Linked DNA regions of Homo sapiens: regions 2, 3 and 4 are each linked to region 1. Evidence: promoter capture Hi-C in 16 types of primary human blood cells and fetal thymus (Javierre and others, 2016). All regions are on one chromosome and are shown on one strand. Each heading gives the region's core, a stretch centred on a gene start or on the middle of the fragment in contact. The rest is flanking DNA. Distances are from core to core; before and after follow the strand shown.

Region 1 (5,262 bases), core at 1,396-3,895:
CCACCTCTATCTTTTTTTTCAATGGCTTTGTGCGTGTCCTTCTGGGTTTCACTTTATTGCACAGACACTTTGTTTGCTAAGCCCCACACGTTCTCAGGACATTGCCTCGCCTGGGATCGCGCCGAGGGGCCGCAAGGGGGGGAATTCGAGGGGCAGAGTTGGGAGGTGGCTCGGCGTTGCCGCGGCACTCCCGGTGCAACGTGGAGGCAGTGGGGACTGGGAAGTCCTGCAGAGTCACTTTGCAAACTAAATAAATCAAGCGATTTACCTTGTCGGAGTGGCTTGTCTTGCTCGGTTGTTTAGGTGATTGGAAATGTAGCCTGATGAAGATTGATCACCTTTCTACTGCCCTCCCCGGGTATGTGAACGCGAGGCGAGTGCGTAACGGGGCTAGGCCGCCAATCGGGGGCCCCGCGCGGGCTGAGTGACAGGGAGCCGGGCAATGGCTGCGCGAGCCGGGGGTTACCTCCGCGCGCCCCCGCCCTCCCCCGCCCCCCACACCCCGCCCTCCCCGCCCTCCCGCCCCGCCCCGGTCGCGCGCTAACTCCGGGACTCGGCTGGCAAAAGCGGCGCAGAGCTAGGCGAGGAAGGCGAGCGGAGAGCCCGAGTCCTGGCCGCGGAGGGGGCCGTGGGTCTCCAGGCCTGCCCTGGGCGCCCCCGCCCTTCTCGCGCTCTCGGCGCTCCGGAGGGAGTGGCAGGGAGGAGGCGAGGTGCTGGAGAACCGGTTCCTTCGCTCTCCCGCGCGCTACAGGGCTCAGCCGCTCGGGTGTGGGCGCCAGGACCCGGGGGCGGCGGGCTGGAGGAGCCCGGGCCTCGGCCCCTCTCCCGGCGCCGCGGGCCCCAGCGTTTTCTTCCCCGGCGCCGCCACCTGAGACCGACGCCGCGGGCTGCTCGTGCCGGCGCAGGCTACTTTGCAGAGCGCGGGAGCAGCTCCGGGCGTGCAGATCTCTCCTCGGCCCCTCCGGACTCTCGCGCCTGGGAAGAGCACCCACTGGGAGGGCGCCGCCACTTACCTGCTTGCTCGTCGGCATCTCCCGGGGTTCCAGGTCCCCACCAAGGGTGTTTGCAAGTCTTAAGCGCTTCTACTGAAACGTTGGAGCCCAGCGTCCTCTTCCCCTCACACGTACACCCTACTTCTTAATTGAAACATTTTGATAGGAAAGTTTCTTTTTCGCTCTTTCTCTCTCTTTCTTAGACTGCCTCTAACAGGGACTTTTTGATGGAAAATGTGGCCACAGACCCCTGCCCTCAACTTTTTTCCACATGCTGCGTAAGGATCCTCCTTGAGGCGATTTCCCCGGATTGTTCGTACGGGCGAAGCCCATTTCCCACCCGAAAAAACTTCCCAAACACGTCTACCTGGGTGGACTTTTAAAAGTGCAAAAAAGAGTTTTCGTTCCAACTCTAAGCTAGGCGAATCTTTTAAATGGCACCTCCTCCTGAAAATTAGGCACTTTATTCCCTTTCGAGGAATTTCTACCCCTTGTTTCTAATCTCCCCCACTCCCCCACCCCGACAGGCGGGGTAAAAAGTTTGCACAGGATTAAGTGTGAGGGCAAGTCAAGGAGCCTCCAGGCGCATCGCAGTGGGGAGCACTCGCGCTGCCCGGGCTGCGGGGTCGGGCGCCGAGAGCGGACCGGGCGCTGGGTGAGGAGGAGGAGAACGAAGGGGGAGCCCGCTGAGTGAAAAGGGGCCGCGGCCGCCGCTCATCAAAGTGCTTCCCCCTCCCCCAAGCGACACTTTCCTTTGGAGTCCGAATAAAATACGGTAACAGAATATGATGGAGGGCACACTGTTTCCTTAACTGCTTCTCAAAGGACCCGGGAGATCTTCTTAGGACCTTTAATAAGGCTTTGGTCGGTTCTTTTGTTGATCTCTCAAAATCAACTCCTTCTAATTGAAGTTGGAGCTGAAAGCGAGCTAATGTTCAAAGAAAGTGGCCGCCAGACCAACGAAATTACATTTTTTTTTTGACGATGAGGGAACATCTAATCAAAGAGGCAGGGGAGGAGGGGTGGGAGTGGGGGCGTACGAAGGAGAAAAGGAGGTTTTACAAGATCCTTCTCTGGTTCACAAAAGTCAGCGACACGGGCGCTTCTCTACAGAACAAAGACACCGCGGCCCATTCACAAAAGGGAGAGAAAGAGAGAAAGCTGAATAAAAGAACGAGAGAAATGGGGAAAAAATGAGAGAGAGAAGGAGGGAGAGAGTGAGTGAGAAAGAAGCTTTAAGAGGAAAAGAAACAGTGCAGAGCGCAGCGCTAACCCAGGCGGGGACACACCTTAGGCTCGCGCAGGCCCCTACCAGGAGTAGCCCGCGAGGCCCGCGGTCAGCCGCCCGCGGCTCGGAGCCACTGTGATCGTGCTGAGGTTTAAAGAAAGCAACGAAATATACCCCTTCCTTAGGTTCCGAGGAAAGGCGCCGGCTGGAGCGCACTAGTTTTGGGGGAAAGAATATGCGGACGTCCCGGGGTGCGCTTCGCCGGCGTCCGCGTCCATAGCCCGGCGCTGCCCTAGTCCCGGCCAGTCCGCTGTGTGCCGGGGTTGGCCCTCCAGTGCCGGGGCGCGTGACCTTGCCCCATTCCTCCACCTTAACTCATTCCTCCCTCCACCAGGCCCTGTTTCGCCTGCAGCCTCAGCACCTGACCTGGGTCCGGCGCAGCGAGGTGGGACGGCAGTGCGCTCTGGAATGTGCCAGCGCGGTCCCCGGGGTACGCCTCGCGGGAGGCCGGCGCTCTCGGTTCCAGATGCTGCCACCATTCTCGGGGAAGTTGGGAGGTATCAAGTAGCACGGATTTTTTTTTTCCTAATTAGAGTATTTATCTAATCCCAAATTGCAGGCGAATTTTCTTAACGCTCAGCCCATAAAACCCCAGGATTAAGAAAAGAAAGAGGAGAGGGGGAGAGGGAGGAGAGTGGAGAGGGAGAGAGACTGGGATGAAAGTTTCTTGAAAGCAGCGCAGAGGATTGAGGCGGCCGTCGCTAGGCAAATGTCCAGGTGGGAGATGCTGGGCCAGAAGCCATGACCGTTCCAGCATCGGCCGCGGTGCGGGAAGGGGAAGTGGGGACACCACTGGAGGAGGTGAAGCCGTCCAGCTCAAGGCCCTCGAGCCGGGAAGGGGCGAGGGAGCTGGGTGTGGAGACAAGGATCCAGCATCCAGGTGACCTCCAGGCCCGGCCAGGCTCTGGAGGACACTTGGGACAAGGGGAGGGCTTTGGATCTGAGGCCGAGGGATCTGACCAGGGGCGGAAGTTCTGCTCCGGCCCGCAGACTGTGCCCAAGCAAGCCCGCTGCCAACGCCCCTGCTCCTCTGCGACCCTCGGACCGATAGTCTCTTTTCCCGCAGCGCGGGCTTTCGAGTTCCGGGTCCTCCGGCGTGCTGGGCTCGTGCCCGTTCTCGGGAGCCAGCGTCTGGGCACCACGCAGCGATGTCCGGATGCAGCGCCCTTGCCGCGGGCCTTACCCCGCCAGGCGCCGGAGTCCACGCTCCACCGCCGCTGAGGGGCGTTCGGGCGCCACCGAGCAGCCCAAATTGAAACCCCGAGAGGCTCGGGACTAAAGCTGAAGGGGCAGGTAGAGGGGCCGCCCGGCGGTCCCAGACCATCCTAGCAAATCTGGGGCGAGGGAAGGGTTGTCAGTTGGCCGATTGGGAGCGGCTTCGGGAGCGAAGGAGCTGCTTTTCGGCGAGGCCCCTCGGGAGTGAAGGTTCCTCGAATCAAGCGTAAACTGGGTGGGTGCTGTTGGCCGCCCAGGCCCCAGGCTGCTTGGGGCGGGCGATTTCTGTCTGCTGAGTTTTCCCGGGGTTAGAACGGGATTCTGAGAGCGTTCCCCAGAGAGCAGCAGCTCTCTCTCTGCTCTCGTGCTCGAATAAAGAGGGCAAATACCGACTTCATTTACTTAAAATAACTTTTCAATAACTTAAAAGAAATGCTCATCATGAAGGAATTCTACCGTAGCAAGTTTTTATCATTTTGAAAGACTGGCAACTGGAGGTGGCTGCATACTTGGAACGAAATTTGTTTGTGTGCACATACATACGATCTACGCTGAAGTATAAATGCTAGTGGACTTTTTTCTCTAAGTTTCTGGACTTGTTGAACAAGCTTTCTTTGTTTGGACACCCCTGTGGGGGAATGAAGGAAACTAGCATAGAATCGCTTTTTTTTTTTTTCTGTAGCCTAGAACTTCTTGTTAAAAGTTCTCTTTCCCTCATTTCATACACACATACCTGCATACATTCTCCCCGCCCCCCAACAATAACCCTCTTCCTTTCACTTCAGTACCTACAGACTTGCCGGTTATCAGAAGACACGACTCTCCCTAATACGACTTCAAAACTCTAACAATTCAAAGTAATGACGTGGAAAATTCAAGATATAAATATTGGTTTTTCATTGGTGTGGAATCACAAATTTCCTCAAATCTTTAGCAGAGATGACCCTTTACAAAAGACATGATAGTTTATACTGCTTAAGAATATGACTAATTACTTTTCAATTCGCATTCGTGTGTCAGTAGGGCCCCCTCTGGGATGGTGTAAACTTATTCAGCTTCAAATGCAGCCCAGTATCCTGCCCTAAGTTCCAGAGGACCATTTTCCACATGAAAAGTCTTACGGATAGACAAACTTCCATTCAAGCCAATGTCAAGTTTTCATTGCAAGAAAGTAGCAGCCGTGTTTAAGGTAAGAAAGTTTCTGCTTTTATTGAAAATTTATATATGACTCAGTATTGTAATAAATAAACATAACCATTTTCACAAAAAATGACAGTGCTATGCTAAAGAAGAAAATATTAAATGGGGGATTTACTTGTAGTGGCAAGACAGACTTTTTATCAATACAGAATAAATATTAACAGCATTCGTGAGCCAATGTTGAGACCCAACAAAATGTAGGAATCAAGCATGATGTAAGAAATAATTATCCAGAGAAAAAGATGGTGTATTCTCGGATGATAAGACTGTCTTTGTAAACTGGTGCATATCAATTAGTCCCATCCTCACAGCTCACCTTCAAACCACAGGGCTTGTTTCTGGCTATGTTAAAGGACCATCCTCTGAGGAAAGCAGAGGAGAGGAACTCCATTATCCTTACAGTGAAACGCAACCACTGCAGAAAAACTCCACTGGTAAATAGAACACAGTTTAATAAGTAGATTGGATATGATCTAACTATAAAATTTAGGTAACAGAGTAAGTGTTACATGTGGCAGGACCGGAAAAAAATCATGACATTTTTCTTATCCCCTTGTACCCCTCCCA
Region 2 (5,528 bases), core at 741-3,240, 590 kb after region 1:
AGTGGAATAGCCGTTCCTGGGTTCAGCGGCAAAGCAGTGAGGGTAGCTGAGGCTGCTGGAGGCAACCGCTCAGGCCAGGCCACAGATAAAAGTGAGAGCGCACCCAGTTAAACTAAGGCCTTAATTACAGGCTTCGTTTAGAGCCTAGCAGCAAAAGCTTGCTGCAGCCCCACAGGTGCTGGACGCTGAGGAGTTCCCACCAGCCTGGCTCAGCCCTCTGCACCCAGGCAGCCCACCCCACCCCCACCTTCCGAAGGTAGAACCACGAGGACTTCCGAATCAGATGCACTTTGGAATGTGAGATGCTCGGTAAGAAGCTCATTCCAAATCTAGAAGTTCACTGGTATCGGGATGTCCTTCTCAGAGCTTTCGGTGCACAAAGAAACGGACATCTCTGCCCCTGAGGCCGCTATTCCTCACCATGCTACCAACCCAGGCTCAGCTCTCCCTCCGGGGCCTTCCCGCCGCACCCAGCCCTTCCTCCAGGTCCGCGACGGGGAGGAAACCCGGCCAGCCTCCCAGCCCGCAACCGTCCACTCCTGGCTGCCACACCCAAGGCAGTCTCTGCCTTCTCTAGAGCGAGAGCGCAGCGGGCCAGGGGAGAAGTGGAAAGACACAAAAGGCTGCGGGGCTGGGACGGCGAAGCAGCAGCCCGCACGGCAGGGGGCTTGGCAGCGGCGCCCGGGGTCGCCGATCCCCGGCTCTCGGCCAGCCCAGCCCAGCGACCCTTTCCGCGGGGGATGCTGGCCCCTGCTGGCCGCGCGAGAGATCGCAGGGTGGCTATCGCCTCGGGAGAGCAGAGAGGCCCGGGACCGGGAAGCGGTGCCCGCCCCGGGAAAGGGGCTGAGCTCTCAGGGCAGCAGCAGCACCCGGCCCCCGCGTGGAGGTGGTTAGCCTGGAGGGGAGCTGGGAGAAGGCAAGGACGGGAGGACCTGGGCGCGAGGCCCCAAGTTCTGGTCCTGTCCCCGCCGCCACCCTGGTAACAGTGCTAGCTGCCTCAGCACCTCCAGGCTCACACGTGCTATCAAACGCCTCATATCATAGTTTCTAGAAAGGAGATGAGTCAGAAGAAAGAGGTGAGAGGTCTCTAGCATGACTGGCTCTGGTCTCCCTCCAGGGCCTACCTCCAGAAGACTTCCTTCAGCCTGATGTCTTCCTCAAGACCAGCCAACCCCGAACCATGAGCTGATGGGGCCACGTGCATTTCACAGGTTACTGACTGGGTGGGCTGAATGATGGCCCCCAAAGACAGCCAGGTCCTAACCCCTGGAACCTGTGAATATTACCCTACATGGCAAAACGGACTTTGCTGGTGTGACTGAAAGCCCTTGAGTGGGGAGATTATCCCGGATTATTCAGATGGATCTTAAATGTAATCACAAGGGTCCTTCTAAAAGAGAGGCAGAGGAAGATTTTACTACAGAAGACAAACAAAGCCATATGACAAAGGAAGCAGACAGAGAGAGAGATTTGGAAATGCTATGCTGCTGGCTTTGAAGATGGGTAAGAGGCCAAGAGCCAAAGAATGCAAACACTGCAGCTCTGGATGCTAGAAAGGGCAAGGAAATGTAGAGCCCCTGCAGGCTCTGCTTACCCCTTAATTTTGGCCCAGTGAAACTGATTTCAGATTTCTGATCTGCAGAACTGAAAGAGAATAAATGTGTGTTGCTTTCAGCCACCAAGTTTGTGGCAATTTGTTACAGCAGCCACAGGACGCTAATACATGACCCTTTACTCTCTGACTCTTGTACTCAGCACTTGGGATCAAACAGTGAACCCGATAAACCTCTACACCTCCCAGGGAAATTGACCATCTCTCTGTCTCTGGATTTTAAAAAGGAACAGCCACGTAGACATTTTATCAAAGATATATGAATGGTCAATAAACACATGAAAAGAAAATGCACAAAATCATTAGCATTAGGGCAATGAAAATTAAAACCACAATGAGATACCACTTCATACTCACTAGGATGGCTATAATAAAAGACAATAACAAATGTCAAAAGTGTGGAAGAACTATAATTTTCATATATTGCTGATGAGATTGTAACATGGTACAACTGACTTGGAAAATAGTTTGGTAGTTTGTTTGGTTTTTTGAGACGGAGTCTTGCTCTGTCGGCCAGGCTGGCGTGCAGTGGTGCAATTTCGGCTCACTGCAACCTCTGCCTTTCAGGTTCAAGCAATTCTCCTGCCTCAGCCTCCCGAGTAGCTGGGATTACAGGCACCCACCACCACACCCAGCTAATTTTTGTATTTTTAGTAAAGACGGGTTTTCACAATGTTGGCCAGGCTGGTCTTGAACTCCTGACCTCTGGTGATCCACCCGCCTTGGCCTCCCAAAGTGCTGGGATTACAGGCGTGAGCCACTGTGCCCGGCCAGTTTTTAGAAGTAATTTACCCAAAATAAGCACATACTCCAAATATATGTGCATATAAGAACAGAAGCTATGAATGTTCATAGCTGCATTATTCATAGCTGCCCAAACCTAGAAATAAATGTTCACCATCAGTGAATGAAAATGTGGTATTTGCAGTGGAATATTACTCAGCAATATAAAGGAACAGATTACTGTTATGCTACAATATGGAGGAGTCTCAAGAACATTACACTAAGCAAAAGAAGCAAGACACAGAAGACCACATATTGTATTATTTATATGAAATGTCAAGAGGCAAATCCATAGAGACAGAAAGATTAGTGGTTGCCTGGGACAGGGACAGGGTGGGAATGGGAATGGGAATGCTACAAGTAGGAGTATCTTTGGAGTGATAGCATTTTAAGGTTGGATTGTGATGGTGGCACAACTCAAAATGAATTTTATGATATGCAAATTGGACCTTCAATAAAGCTGGGTCTCGGCTGGGCACAGTGGCTCACGCCTGTAATCCCAGCACTTTGGAAGGCCAAGGCGGGCAAATCACTAGGTCAGGAGATCGAGACCATCCTGGGCTAACACAGTGAAACCCTGTCTCCATTAAAAATACAAAAAAGTTATCCAGGCGTGGTGGCAGGTGCCTGTAGTCCCAGCTACTCAGGAGGCTGAGGCAGGAGAATGGCGTGAACCCAGGAGGCGGAGCTTGCAGTGAGCTGAGATCGTGCCACTGCACTCCAGCCTGGGCGACAGAGTGAGACTCCATCTCAAAATAAATAAATAAATACATACATAAATAAATAAAGCTGGGTTTTTTGTTTTATTAAAGGCAAATCTAGGATATAGGATAATAAAACCTCAAACCTCACAGGAGTATTTGCATTTTAAGAGCGGGACCTTAAAGATTTCAAAACCTACAGTATGATGGAAAGCCTGGTGACAGACCACACCTGGGGACTATGGCCCAGCACTTCTCTGGATCATCCCAGTGGGCAGCCCTACCATCCTGTACCGCAGCTATATTGTGCCACCTTTTACATTCTGGGGAGCAGTGGGAACAGAGCTGCACACTGTTTGCCTCATACCTTTACCAGGGCTCAACATGGAAGCCAGTACATGCTTCATGCAGCCACGATTCACACAAAAGCACCCCATGCCTGATGCCTCTGCTTTCCACGAGGGAGGCATGGAATCTGCTCCTCCCACCCCCAGAGCTGGGTCTGTGGAGACACTGCATTCCCCTCCTCTCAGTAGGGTCCTGCACCTCATCCCATCCAGCTCTCCCCAGCTCCACTCTGCCGACTAGGCTGCTCTCCAGGGAGGTTAAGATGTGGGAGCTGGGCCAGGAGGCTGCTGCAGCAAGATCAGAGCTGCCAATCCCATTTAGCTCTGCATCTCTCAAAACGCTAAGGCCAGCTTACAGGCACCCCTCATCCTGAAGCTTTCCTTTAAGTAAAAGAGTTCCTTCTAGAAAACAGGCCCATGCCTGGCACTGCAGAGAATGTGGCCCTGCTTCCAGAAACTCAGGACCCACCCTGCCTAACTCAAAGTTTTTCTTCTTGATCTACTTTACAAATTTCTCCCACTCTTACCTCCATGAGATGCAAGCACAGGCAAGTATCTATTCTCTCATGGCATGTGAATTCCCCCACCCTTTAGCTCAGTCTAATAAAAGCAAGCAAACCGTGGGTGAGAACCATATTTAAGACCTCTAGCATCCTCTCCAATGGTCTCCCCTGCAAAATGACAAGTGTAGGCCTAAAACAGAGGAATGGGAATAGCCCCACTTTTAAGAGTAAAGGAGTCAAACATTGCTGGTAGATTTTAAAAAGGTCTACAGAGGTTTTTGTTTATTTTTTTAAACTACACATAAAAGGTTTTCTTTTATTTAGGGTGAAGCTGTCAGGCTCTAATAGCAGCCTGGCATAGACAGTGGCCAAAACAGGAACAGAAGACAGGATCTTGTAATACAAAATAAATACAAACTTGTAATCCAATAAAATACAACTGAGGGTGAAGGAAAAAGGAGGAGGAGGTCTCACCCCGCACCCAGCCTAAAAGGAGAAGAAAGTGCTGAGGCCAAGTAAGTTTTCTAAAACATGTTAACAGTTCCTTGTGTGTCCATCACTAAACTCATTCATTAACTTTCCAAGTTGGTGCCGTGTGCCTCCTGCTCCCCTGGACACCTCCTGCAGACCACACTCATCACTGGAGTATCTGAGTCACCAGAGATCTACCTCAGCCCATTGTTGGGACTACAGGCTGGGTCTTGATGCAGAACATACAGCATACAGGCCTTCTCCCAGGGAAAGAGTCAGGAGCCCAGCATAATTTACATCACAGACAACAAGGATGATGCACAGGATGGGACTCAAGCTGCTTCTTCCTAAGTTCGCAGAGAATCTATGTGACTTGATGGCACCTCCAACAGGAGACAAGGTGGTCCTCTCTCCCACCCTGCTTTATGGACAGACATCAGGGAGGCAGCAGGCCTCTGATTGCTCCCTCCACACCTGTGGTTCCTAACTCTGATGAACCTTCTTGCCCTGAGCACCATCTGGAACCTTGGCATGCAGCTTAGGTTGGCAGGAGATGAAGGGAGGGAGCTTACAGAAGTTCCTCAAGTCAGCCGGGCATACTGACTCATGCCTGGAATCCCAGCACTTTGGGAGGCCCAGGCAGGTGGATCACCTGACGTCAGGGGTTCCAGACCAGCCTGGCCAACATGGCGAAACCCCATCTCTACTAAAAATACAAAAAATTAGCCAGGTGTGGTGGTGCGCACCTGTAGTCCCAGCTACTCAGAAGGCTGAGGCAGGAGAATCACTTGAACCCAGGAGGCGGAGGTTGCAGTGAGCTGAGGTCTTGCCACTGCACTCCAGCCTGGGCAACAGAGCGAGACGCTGTCTCAGAGAGAGAAAAAAAAGAAATTCCTCAGGTCAAAAGTAGGTGCTGTAAGTGGGAACTCCAGTGATGCTGTGTTCTGACCCAGAGAATTTGCCTTCCTCACGTACGTTCTAGTTACGAGTCACACAAGACCAATGCTAACATATGCAAGATTGCAGTAAGCACAGCAACTCCAATCAGCAGGCCCAGGTAGTTAAAGGATAATCCAACTCCTGAAACACAAAGGAATTTTTTTTTTAAAGG
Region 3 (5,528 bases), core at 1,007-3,506, 540 kb after region 1:
AACCCAAGAGGACAGCTGCTGCAGCATCCAGTTCATCTTAAGAATTTCAGGCCAGGTACGGTGGCTCACACCTGTAATCCCAGCACTTTGGGAGGCCAAGGCGGGTGGATCACTTGAGGTCAGGAGTTCGAGACCAGCCTGGCCAACATGGCGAAACCCTGTCTCTACTAAAAATACAATAATTAGCCGAGTGTGGTGGCGGGCACCTGTAATCCCAGCCACTCGGTAGGCTGAGGCAGGAGAATCACTTGAACCCAGGAGGCGGAGGTTGCAGTGAGCCGAGATTGTGCCATTGCACTCCAGCCTGGGTGACAGAGCAAGATTCTGTCTAAAAAAAAAAAAAAAAAAAAAAATTTTAGATTAGTCACACAATAAATGTTCTGATTTAAAAAAAAAAAGGCAAAACTCTCCTTTGCTGTTAGAATTCAGGAAAGGTCAGTTATGAGTGAGGAGTGGGTTTAGTGACTGAAAGGAAATAGGAAGGGGGAGTTTCTGGGAATATTGTAAAGTTTCTTGAACAGGGTGCTGATTACACATACAGATTTCAGTCTATGTATATATATTACACTTATTTCTTAAGTAATATATATTACTTACAAAAGGTGTACAATTTTTCTGTATGTGTATTACACTTAGTTTTTTTTAAGTAATATATCTTGAGAGAAAGCTAGAAAATAAGACGTTTAAAAATTTTTGAATCACCTACAATCCCACTATCCAGTGAAAACGACTGTTAACATTTTGGACTTTTTTCCAGTTCTTTTTTTCAAGCCAGTGTGCACACGCTCTCTCCTCCCCTCCACTCATACACATAAATTTTGCTAAATTAGGTTCATTCTCATTTAGTTTTATTTCTGCTGTATTTTTACATAAAGTTAAACTATACCATTCAATATCCTTTGCAAGCATTTTATAAGCAGCTGAAACATACTCCATTGAATGTATGTGCTCCAGTACATTTAATCAGTTGCCCATTGCTGTTTTCTTATTAAAAAATAATCAGTCACATGATGTCTCTCTCTCTCACACACACCCCTACACCTCTAGACATTCTTTAAGCTCTGCATTCGTTCTCTATTTCTCTCCAGAAAGGTTGTACCGATTTACAGTTCCACTGGCAAATGTGAGGGCTCCTTGTATCGCAGTCCAACCCCAGCTCATTTCTTAGTATAGGTTTGTTTTTAGGATGGTCGAGCTCAAAGCAGAACTAAGGGATCTGCCGTTTTGTACACGGCCGAGGCGCGCGGCTCCCTGGGCCTGGAACGCGCTCTGAGCGCGCCGGTCCCTTCCAGGTTGCGCGGGCTCCGGACGAGACCCAGCCCAGCCGGGCAGCCCCGCGCGCTCCCGGGTCCCGCCGGCCTCGCGCCGCCCGGTTGCCGTGGGAACCACGGAGCCTCGGAGCGCCCGCAGACTAGCCCGTGTCTGAGGGGGTGAGGGATACTGAGGCCCAGGCATGGAGCTGCCGGATCCGGTGCGCCAGCGGCTGGGAAACTTCAGCCGGGCCGTGTTCAGTGATTCCAATCGGACCGGTCCAGAGTCCAATGAGGGTCCGGGTGAGTGACCGAGGCCCGGTGCAGGGGGTGTGGCCTGCCGAGGGCTTGGCGTGGATTTTGGAGCGTCCAGAATTTGCCCGTACCTAAAATGGCGATGTCGCCTTCAGCCAGTTCTCCGCAGTGCGGGAGAGCGCCTTGGAGGAGGGGCCGGGCCGGACAGGGAGCTGAGGCGCTGGCGGCCTCCCGCCCCCGGCCGGGCCTGGTCTCCGCGTGGTGCTCCCTGGCCAGCTTGTTGCAAGCGCGGCAGCTGACGTGGGGCCGATCTCTGTGCCGCGCAAGGCCCATCATTGTCCCGGAGAAACCCCAAAAATAAAAAGATAAAAGCCGCCCTTGCTGCACAGGCTGGTCCCCCGCGCGCCGCGAGAGCGAAGGCCCAAGTTGTTTTGCCTCTGCGGCGCCCGCCCCGGCTTTTCTGTCCAGGATGACGAGGAATAGCCCAAGCAATCCCACCTCCCCCGTCCCCACCCCCACCCCAGGGAACAAATTTGCCTTTTCCCTTTTCCTAGCAGAACAAGTATGTTCCTAAGCAAGGCCATTTTCTCGTAGAAGACATTAAAAAAAAAAGTTAATGAGTCCTTTCAAACCACCATCCACTCCCACTGGCATGTGCCATACTAGCCGGGCGTTCAACAAAACTCACCCCTTCCCTGCCTTCTCCTCCTCCCCTATATGTAACTCTTATCATAAGGTAACAAAATACCATGATGCTTCTGCGTCCTTTAACTTGATGTCAAGTGATAACACAGTTTCCTCCAGAACAGTTTCCTCCTCCTACATCATGATGGTAGACAACACACTGTCAACCAAACCCATGTGGTTTTCATCATTCAACTCTGCTGGGAAATATCAATCTTTTCCTCTGCTTGGTTTTAGAGAATTTTTAAAAGGGACAGAGAAAAGTAAAGGCAGTTCCCAAAGCTGCATTTTGTCACCTTGATCACTTGCCTATTTCCCAAATGTAGGCCTTTATGATTTAGGATGTACAGAGAAAAATGTGAAAAAAATAGGTTTTCACGTTTCTGGTTCCAAGGATGAGGCTTAATGAGCACTAACGTCTGATAATACAAGGTAAAAAGACGTTTTCTGAAAAGGACCAGATAGTAAATATTTTAGACTTTGTAGGCCATATGGTCTCCACGGCAGCCATTGACAATAGTTATTGAATAGGCAGGGCTGTGTTCCAATAAAACTTTATGGACACTGAAATTTGTATTTCATATGGATTTCACGTGTGGAAAAAATATTACTTTTTTAACCATTTAAACGTGAAAAAACATTTTTAGCTCATTGACTGTACAAAAACAGGCAGCTGGCCAGTTGTTTACCTATCCCTGATTTATATTGTATGTTTTAATTTAAATTCCATTTACAGAACTCAACTTGAACTTTTGCAAAATTTAGTAAGTTTATGTCTTACGCTTTTAAGGTTCATTTACATATTAATTTGATTTTCATTTCCATGATTATAAGTTTGATCTGCTGAAATATGGACATAGCATAACCTTTAAGATGTTAACACACAATACTTCTAACATGAAAACCATTCTTTGCAAAATTTGACTACAGTTTCTTCTCAAAGGTACTGAAATGTTCAGCTTGCCCAATTTATTATTCTTTCCCAAATTTTCTTCTTTGTGGATTGGAAGTAGGTTTGATTATTTGTACTGTAATAACAAGTTTATGTCATTACCATGTCCGCAGCTTTGTACTGTTGCTATCGAAAAGATCCTAGGCTGGTGAGTTGTCTTCAGATTTAACAGATTTTAAGAATTCATTCCTTTATCAGTGGTAATTTAATAAACAGTTGCAAGCAAAAGTAGATCATAATAATCAGGCATATTCTTGGAGCTAAAAGAAACTATTTTGCTGTGAGAGACCATGACTATTTCTTATATTTTAAAATAATTAAGTGACAGATAAAAACACTCAGCTATGGAGAAAAGGAGAAAATAATGTTTTTAAGACATTTATTTTAGAGCCTTTAAAATCTTACGTGTACAGCAACTGATTTCAATATATGTGTCTGCTCTTAAGAATTTAGTCAAATTTAGGATGTATTTTGTAGGGCTCAATTTTAAAAATCAAATTCTTAATCTAGGACCCTGCTCTCTTACATAAAAGCAGAAAGTGTTATGGAATCAACCTTAGGTAAATGGAACTCATGTATCACAAATGGCTATGCTAGTAATGTCCTTATGACAGTATACTTTCATTAATTCATTCTTATGTGTATTTGATATTCACTGCGTGGAAAGCAAGATGCTAGATTCTATGAGGGTCTCAAATTAGGGTAGGACATGGTGTGTGCTTGCAATGAGCCTGTAGATAAGTAGAAGAGAAGAAGGAAAGAGGACTAATATTTGTTGAGTGCCTACTAAGTGTGCCAGGCACAGTGCTAGGATGAAATAATTTATATTGGCTCTAATTCTCACAAACAGCCTGTGAGGAAGTTTTAATTTCACTATTTTACAGATGAAGAAATAGAAGCTCAAAGAGTTTAAATAATTCATGTCAAGTCTGACATCCAGGGTCACAGAGGTTTGGGGAGCTCGGATTTGCTTGAACTCTGAAGCCCATGATCTGTTCAGTACACCAGACTGTTTTTTGGGGAGGGGAGTGTGGTTCTTTGCTAGCACTTCTTATTGACAGTTTAGAGTGGTAAGTACCTAAAGGGGAAAGGTATTTCTGCTGAGGTGGGGGAACTGATGAAGGAAGTATTGATGGAAAAGATGACACTGAATTGGACTTTAAAGAATGGCTAAGATTAGGGTATGCTGAAAAGAGAGATGTGTCTAATTATAACCTTGGTAATCCGTTTTTGTATAAGATTAGTTTATCTGTGGGAGATTCATTTTTATTTATTTTATGCATTAATTTTATATGCTATTTACATAGAATTCTACAAAAGAGGCAATGATAATTATCTGTTGAATAGGATTTATGTTGATATTCTACATTAAATCTATACCAGTAGTATATGCCAAAAAGTCAGAAGACTGTAATGGCAAAATGGTAAAATAATTGAAAAATATGAAACGTACCCCCAAATAGCCAATATTTGACCTAACTGGTATTAGGATGAATATTCCTTTTACTGTCAATGATTATAAATAGGCATAAAATTTGGTGTTTTACTGAGCCAATATTATAGTTATTAATTCTAGGGAATAGGATATATATATATAGGGCATAAACCCAAGATTCATCATTTGTTCCTTTTCTGTTCCTTCTGTAGAAAATGAAATGGTCTCCAGTTTGGCACTGCAGATGTCACTTTATTTTAATACCTACTATTTCCCACTGTGGTGGGTGAGCAGCATTATGATGCTTCACATGAAGGTAAATCTAAGCTTTAATACTTTTGCTGCCCTGACGTTGTTAGAGTGTCAATAAAATTCAAGTTCTTAATAATTTTTTCTATCTTAAATCAATGTTACTATACATGAGATTTTACAAACATGTTTTGGCTTTTCTTTTAGTATTCAATCTTACCTGACTACTACAAATTCATTGTGATCACTGTTATCATCCTAATAACCTTAATTGAAGCCATCCGGTTGTATCTGGGCTACGTGGGTAACCTACAGGAGAAGGTAAGCTCTTTTTTCCTTTCTCTCAGTGATAGATATAAATGAAATCAGTTTTCATAACAAGTAAAAGGCAGTGAGGTGTGGCAGAAAGAGCACAGGCCTGAATTTAAAGCCTGACTCCAGCTTTACCACTTCTGTCACTGTGGTCTGTTTGCTTAATCTCTTGAGCCCTGGTTTCCTCATATATAAAATGAGGAAAATAATATTTACTTCACAGGTTTGTTGTGATTAAGTGAAATGATTTATGTAAAGTATATGAATGTAGTAAACACTTAAAATTGATATTTTCCCTCTTCTTATCAGTCTTGAAAATACATGGTTACTTAAACATGTGTATTTGGATCCTGAATAAGAAAATGGGGGAAAATTATGAATTCATTTCCTA
Region 4 (5,036 bases), core at 2,069-4,568, 610 kb after region 1:
TATGAAGAAAGAGGCTTAAAGAATAAGAGCAAAAAGACATAACAAGTGATTCATAGGATATGGTATTCCCTTCAGCTGACATCTAGGACCGGCTCCCTCAAAAGAGTAGGGGGAATGGGGTAGGACCTTGTAGGGGAAGAAAAATAATCCTTTCTACCCTTCATAATTCTTAACCAGGACTCCCTGTAACAAAGACAGGTTAACAAGCAAAAACACAAAAAGAAGTTTGATAATGTGTATATCTCCTGTATATATGGGAGATAACCCAGAGAAATGAGATTTCAAAGAAAAAGTTTAAACTTGAGGTTTAAATACCATCAGTTCTCTGAAATGAAGAAAGAAGTGTATGGGGAAAGACCCTGTTAAGACCAGAAGACCAGGAAAAGCACCTTAGACAAAGGTAAGGTTGTTCTGCAGGTTTAAGTCATGCCTCCTCCATTAAGTGTCTGGTGATTTAGCCATCCTTCTCCTCCTGGGACAGAGAGGGAGACACTCTTACAGGCAGAGACTTCCTTTATTAATATAACTTTCTCTTAAAATTGTAACTTTTCAGTCATATTTTTGTGGTGGCATATTTTAGTGTCCAACCACCTGAAGTCACTCACAGAGGGAAGTCATCTTCATGGAAGCCATTGAAAAGGTAGCTCTGGCACCTGCTGAGAATAGTATGGGGAAGGAGAGCTTTCCCTCTGTCCTCTGAGGCTTTGATGGCTGAGTCTATGAAACAAACTGGCAGTAGACAGATTCACAGTAAAAATGAGAATACGAATTTATTACATGCATGGGGACATCACATAAAAGAAAAGTGTATATCCCCCAAAACCTGGTGAGATCTAGAAGCATATTTACTCTCTTCATAGGGGAGGCTGGAGGGTGATGTAAGCAACTTAGGGAACTGTAAATGAGTTTTGGTGTGAATAGACCCCCTCTCGCCAAGGGAACCAAAAAACAAACCTGAGTTCCAGGCCATGATGGGCTGGGAGGTTAGATAGGTCTTGTCATCTACCCCTTCCTTCACCCAACCCCCATTAGGCCTTCTTCCCTAAGGGTTAAACAGAAACCAGCTTTCGACAGACTTGCTTCACCAATTTCAACCAATCACCTAATGCCGTCCCTCCCTTTTGCTGTTTTGACACAGCAACAGACCAGCATTCTTTCCTAATAGAGACCACCAATCATGAAGTGATTCTGGTCAGTCTACAGAGGCTGTGCACTGAGGGCCTTCCTGTCCTTTACTTCACTTTTTGTTGTAGAGTCTAACTGAATGTTAAGTCTTTACCCCAAAGCGAACATGGAATGCACGTTACATACATGTTAGCCTACTACACATGCACTCACTCCCCTTCATTAATATTTATAGCTCCTCCCATAACCTGTTGAATATGTGTATTTAGCCCTTCAGCATAAATTCCCATCTCATCCTTCTTTCCCTCAGAGCACTTGCTTTTCAGTTTCAGCTAGTAGCTCCACGTCCTGCCTGCAGGTCGTGGTACCCTCCTTTCCAAATGTACGAACCTCGTGATTCTTCATTTGATGCTGGGAAAGATGAGTGGGCCCTCAGAAGAAAAGGTGACAGCCTATGACGAAGTCTGTCTGGGCACGGAGTCAAACCTCAGTCTCCTCTCCTGTGTTATGAGTTGGTCTTGGTTGACGAGGTTCCTGGGGAAGTCTTGACAGTTGAGTTCCTTTTGGAGGATTGTCTTTAGGCAGATAAGGTGAGCTCAAAGCTAGCCTCTGCCTTCATCCACTGTCTCTCAAAATGCCCTCAGTTCAAAGCAATCAGCACACCAAAGCATATTTTGGGGTGGCATTTTCTGAACTCCTTCAGCAGACAGATCACAATGAGGCATCATTTGCTCAGCAGCAACATAAATTGAGAAGCTGCTGGTGTAACACCCAGATCAGCCATTTGCCGCCCAAATTCCCAGCACAATGTTGGGCAGGCAGGAAGTTGTCTCAAATGGTCGCTACTATCAGGAAAGTACCTTTACTCCCCGAGTCTGTTTCCTCATCTCTAAGGCTGTCATCACTACCTGAAAGGGTTTTAGCCCAGGTTTAGTCCATAGCATGCTTTCCTATGTTCTCACAACTGTTTTTATTCTATTGGGAGTGGGTAGGGGTGGAAGATTCAGAAAAGCCTAAGATATGGCCCTTGAGGACATGGTCCAGTTATGGACAAAATCATGTTTGTGGAGAAGTACACAAGCCAGCCTATGATGGCCAGTGGAGGCACTCAGAGGAGAGTGAATCCTGTGAATCCCTCCATGTTGTTCCTATCCTCTCTATTGACGTGGGGCTTTGGGGAAGACTTTAGACTACAAAAAAAAAGGCTCCAGTCAGTTGCTTAACTCTTCTCCACCCCAGACTAATCCATGAGCATGTCCTGTTGACTCCTCCTCCAAAGTATCTAGAATCCAACTAGTTTTCACCCTTACCTCCATACTGCCATGTCTCACACTTGGCATCTCCCTAACTCATCTCCCTGCTTATACTCATGGAATGGTCCATTATATAAAGTGATTTTTGTTCAAAGATAGATACCACCGTGCTCATATCAATACCTTTTAGTAGCTGGCCCATCATTCAAAATGAAATACACTCTTGCATGTCATAATGACATCTTGGTCAACGATGAACCGCATACACAATGGTAGTCCCATAAAATTATAATGGAGCTAAAAGATTCCCATCACCTAGTGAAGTCTTGATGAACTAGCCTCGTGTAGGCCTAGACAAATATGTTTGTGTCCACATTTCCAACAAAAAAAGTTTACAAAGTAAAAAAAAAACAAAAATTAATAGAAAAAGGCTTATAGAAGAATATAAGGAAAACATTGGCTGGGTGTGGGGGCTTATGCCTGTCATCCCAACACTTTATGAGGCCAAGGCAAGAGGATTGCTTGGGCCCCATCTCTACCAAAAAGAAAAAAAAAAAAATAGGCATAGTGGCACACACCCGTTGTCCTACTCAGGAGGCTGAGGCATGAGGATCACCTGAGCCCAGGATGTCAAGGCTGCAGTGAGACTAGATTGCACCACTGCACTCTAGCCTGAGTGACAAAGCAAGACCTGTCTCTAAAAAACAAGCTATTTTGGTACAGCTGTATGTACTTGTTTTAAACTAAGTATTATTACAAAAAATCAAAAAGAAAACTAAAAAATTTATAAAGTAAAAAAGTTTTAGTAAGCTAAAGTTAGTAATTGAAGAAAACAAAATTTTGAATGTAGTGTAGCCTAAGTGTACAGTGTTTATAAAGCCTACAGTAGTGTACAGTAATGTCCTAGGGCTTCAAATTCACTCACCACTCACTGCCTCACCCAGAACAACTTCTAGTCCTACAAGATTCATTCATGGTAAGTGCACTATACAAGTGTACCATTTTAATTTTTTATACTATATTTTTACTGTACCTCTTCTATGTTTAGGTATGCTTTGATACATAAGTACTGAACAATGTGTTACAGTTGCCTACAGCATTCAGTACAGTAACATGCTATACAAGTTTGTAGCCTAGGAACAAGAGGCTGTACCATACAGCTGAGGTGCCTAGTAGTCTGTACCATCTAGGTTTATGTAGGTCTATGATATGCACACAAGAAAGAAATCACGTGATGCATTTCTCAGAACATATTCCTGTCATAAAGTGACATAAAACCATACTGACACCTGAGGGGTACCAGAATATGCCACCCCAAAATGTGCACCATTGGCGTATAAATTATTTTCAGCTAAACGTCATTGAGAACGAGCAGATTCAGAAAAAGCTCTAAAAACAAGTTTTTATATCGTAAAGAAAATTTATATTTATAAAGGAAATTTCCCATCGTAGAGGTGTTTCCCCCTCCAGGAAAGGAAGGATTCTTAACTCTTCTCGATGGAGAAGGCATCAATCTGTGTAACAAACCTTGATACACAACCCTTGCTTACGGTACTTTTCAGGATCGTCTTCCCATAACCTGCCTTCTCTAAGAGCCTAAAACCCTGTTGTTGTTGTTGTTGTTGTTGTTGTCGTTAAGAGAAATAAAACTAAAATCTTAAGGCTCCCAACTGACTGGATGGACCCCCTCTTTGCCAAGCATACCCCAGAGGAAACTTAAAACCTGAGTTCCCCACCATGACCAGATGGGAGGTCAGACAGACCCCATTATACTCTTCCCTCCCTAATTGCCATTAGGCCTAGTTTCCTAAGGGCTAAACAGAAACTAGCTCTTTTTTAAGTAGAGACAAGGTCTCACAATGTTGCCCAGACTGGTCTTGAACTGCTGGCCTCAAGTGATCCTCCTCCCTTAGCCTCCCAAAGTGCTGGGATTACAGGCATGGGCTACCAACCTTGACCAAAGCCATCCCTATCAAAAGACTTGCTCCACCACTGATTTTAGCAGGACTCCTCTCCCCTTTTGCAGTTTGATACAAATACTAGCCAGTATTCCCTCCTGATAGGGGGCCACCAGCCAGGAACTGGTGGTGGCTGGTTTACAGAGGCTGTGCACAGGATGCCTCTGTGACCTCTGTTTCACTCTTTGATAGAGAGCCTGATTCTAATGCATTTAAGTGTTCAGTCTCCACCCCCAGAGTGAACATGGGATGTATGTAACATGCATGTTTGCTTAGTATGTATGTATACATCCCCCTTCTGAATATTCACAGCTCCTCCGATAACCTGTTGAATATGTATACTTAGCTAACCCTTCAGCATAAATTCTCATTTCACCTTTCCTCCTTTGAAGTACGCCCCAGCCTGAGGGTGGCCAGCCTGCAGGCTGCAACCCTTTATAAGAAATAAAGCTCTCTTTTCCAAATGTATGGACCTCATGATTCTTGAGTTGACAGGTATTTAAACCCAAGTTCTAACTACCCCTTTGGGTTACTTATCACTGAGTGCTCTTATATGTGCATGTGTGATGCACATGTTAGGAAACTATTTTTCTTCTGTTAATGTCTCTCTGGCCAGTCTCATTTACAGGACACCAGCTGGAGAACCTAAAAGGGTAGAAAAAACAATTATCTTCCCCTACACACCTATGCAGGACCTCTA

The links. The method cuts DNA at HindIII sites, captures the fragments that hold promoters and counts their contacts. A CHiCAGO score of 5 or more calls a contact.
Region 2: a contact is called between a fragment that was not itself captured here and the fragment with the promoter of EHBP1-AS1 in region 1, in 5 of 17 cell types (M0 macrophages, megakaryocytes, endothelial precursors and 2 more). The highest score is 8.5, in M0 macrophages.
Region 3: a fragment that was not itself captured here is called in contact with the fragment with the promoter of EHBP1-AS1 in region 1 in 1 of 17 cell types (neutrophils); the score reaches 5.6 in neutrophils.
Region 4: a contact is called between a fragment that was not itself captured here and the fragment with the promoter of EHBP1-AS1 in region 1, in 2 of 17 cell types (M2 macrophages and M1 macrophages). The highest score is 5.8, in M2 macrophages.

The regions. Positions count from the first base shown.
Region 1 is chr2:63,045,904-63,051,165 of GRCh38, reverse strand. It overlaps EHBP1-AS1 (EHBP1 antisense RNA 1), which reads left to right and starts at 2,645. Exons shown (of 4, transcript NR_033389.1): 1 at 2,645-2,777; 2 at 4,516-4,684; 3 at 5,025-5,129. EHBP1 (EH domain binding protein 1) reads right to left here. Exons shown (of 23, transcript NM_001142616.3): 23 at 4,679-5,262. It overlaps OTX1 (orthodenticle homeobox 1), which reads right to left and starts at 336. Exons shown (of 5, transcript NM_014562.4): 1 at 269-336. RefSeq lists a silencer at 311-970 and enhancers at 1,087-1,834, 1,835-2,584, 1,198-2,606, 2,585-3,333. The HindIII fragment of the contact is 1,878 bases long and covers 2,228-4,105 here.
Region 2 is chr2:62,452,341-62,457,868 of GRCh38, reverse strand. All of the region lies in intron 4 of LOC105374764 (a long non-coding RNA gene), which reads right to left. It also overlaps a transcript of TMEM17 not described here. Among named protein-coding and RNA genes, the nearest start is that of TMEM17, 51 kb to the left of the region's middle. RefSeq lists a silencer at 481-1,040. The HindIII fragment of the contact is 3,662 bases long and covers 160-3,821 here.
Region 3 is chr2:62,502,055-62,507,582 of GRCh38, reverse strand. TMEM17 (transmembrane protein 17) reads left to right here and starts at 1,388. Exons shown (of 4, transcript NM_198276.3): 1 at 1,388-1,553; 2 at 4,789-4,892; 3 at 5,033-5,146. The coding sequence starts at 1,454. It also overlaps the pseudogene RPL37P13. RefSeq lists silencers at 1,208-1,477, 1,688-1,857, 2,195-2,489 and an enhancer at 5,302-5,528. The HindIII fragment of the contact is 5,299 bases long and covers 1-4,905 here.
Region 4 is chr2:62,436,549-62,441,584 of GRCh38, reverse strand. The region is part of intron 2 of LOC105374764 (a long non-coding RNA gene); the gene reads right to left. Among named protein-coding and RNA genes, the nearest start is that of TMEM17, 67 kb to the left of the region's middle. RefSeq lists an enhancer at 810-859. The HindIII fragment of the contact is 6,784 bases long and covers 1-5,036 here.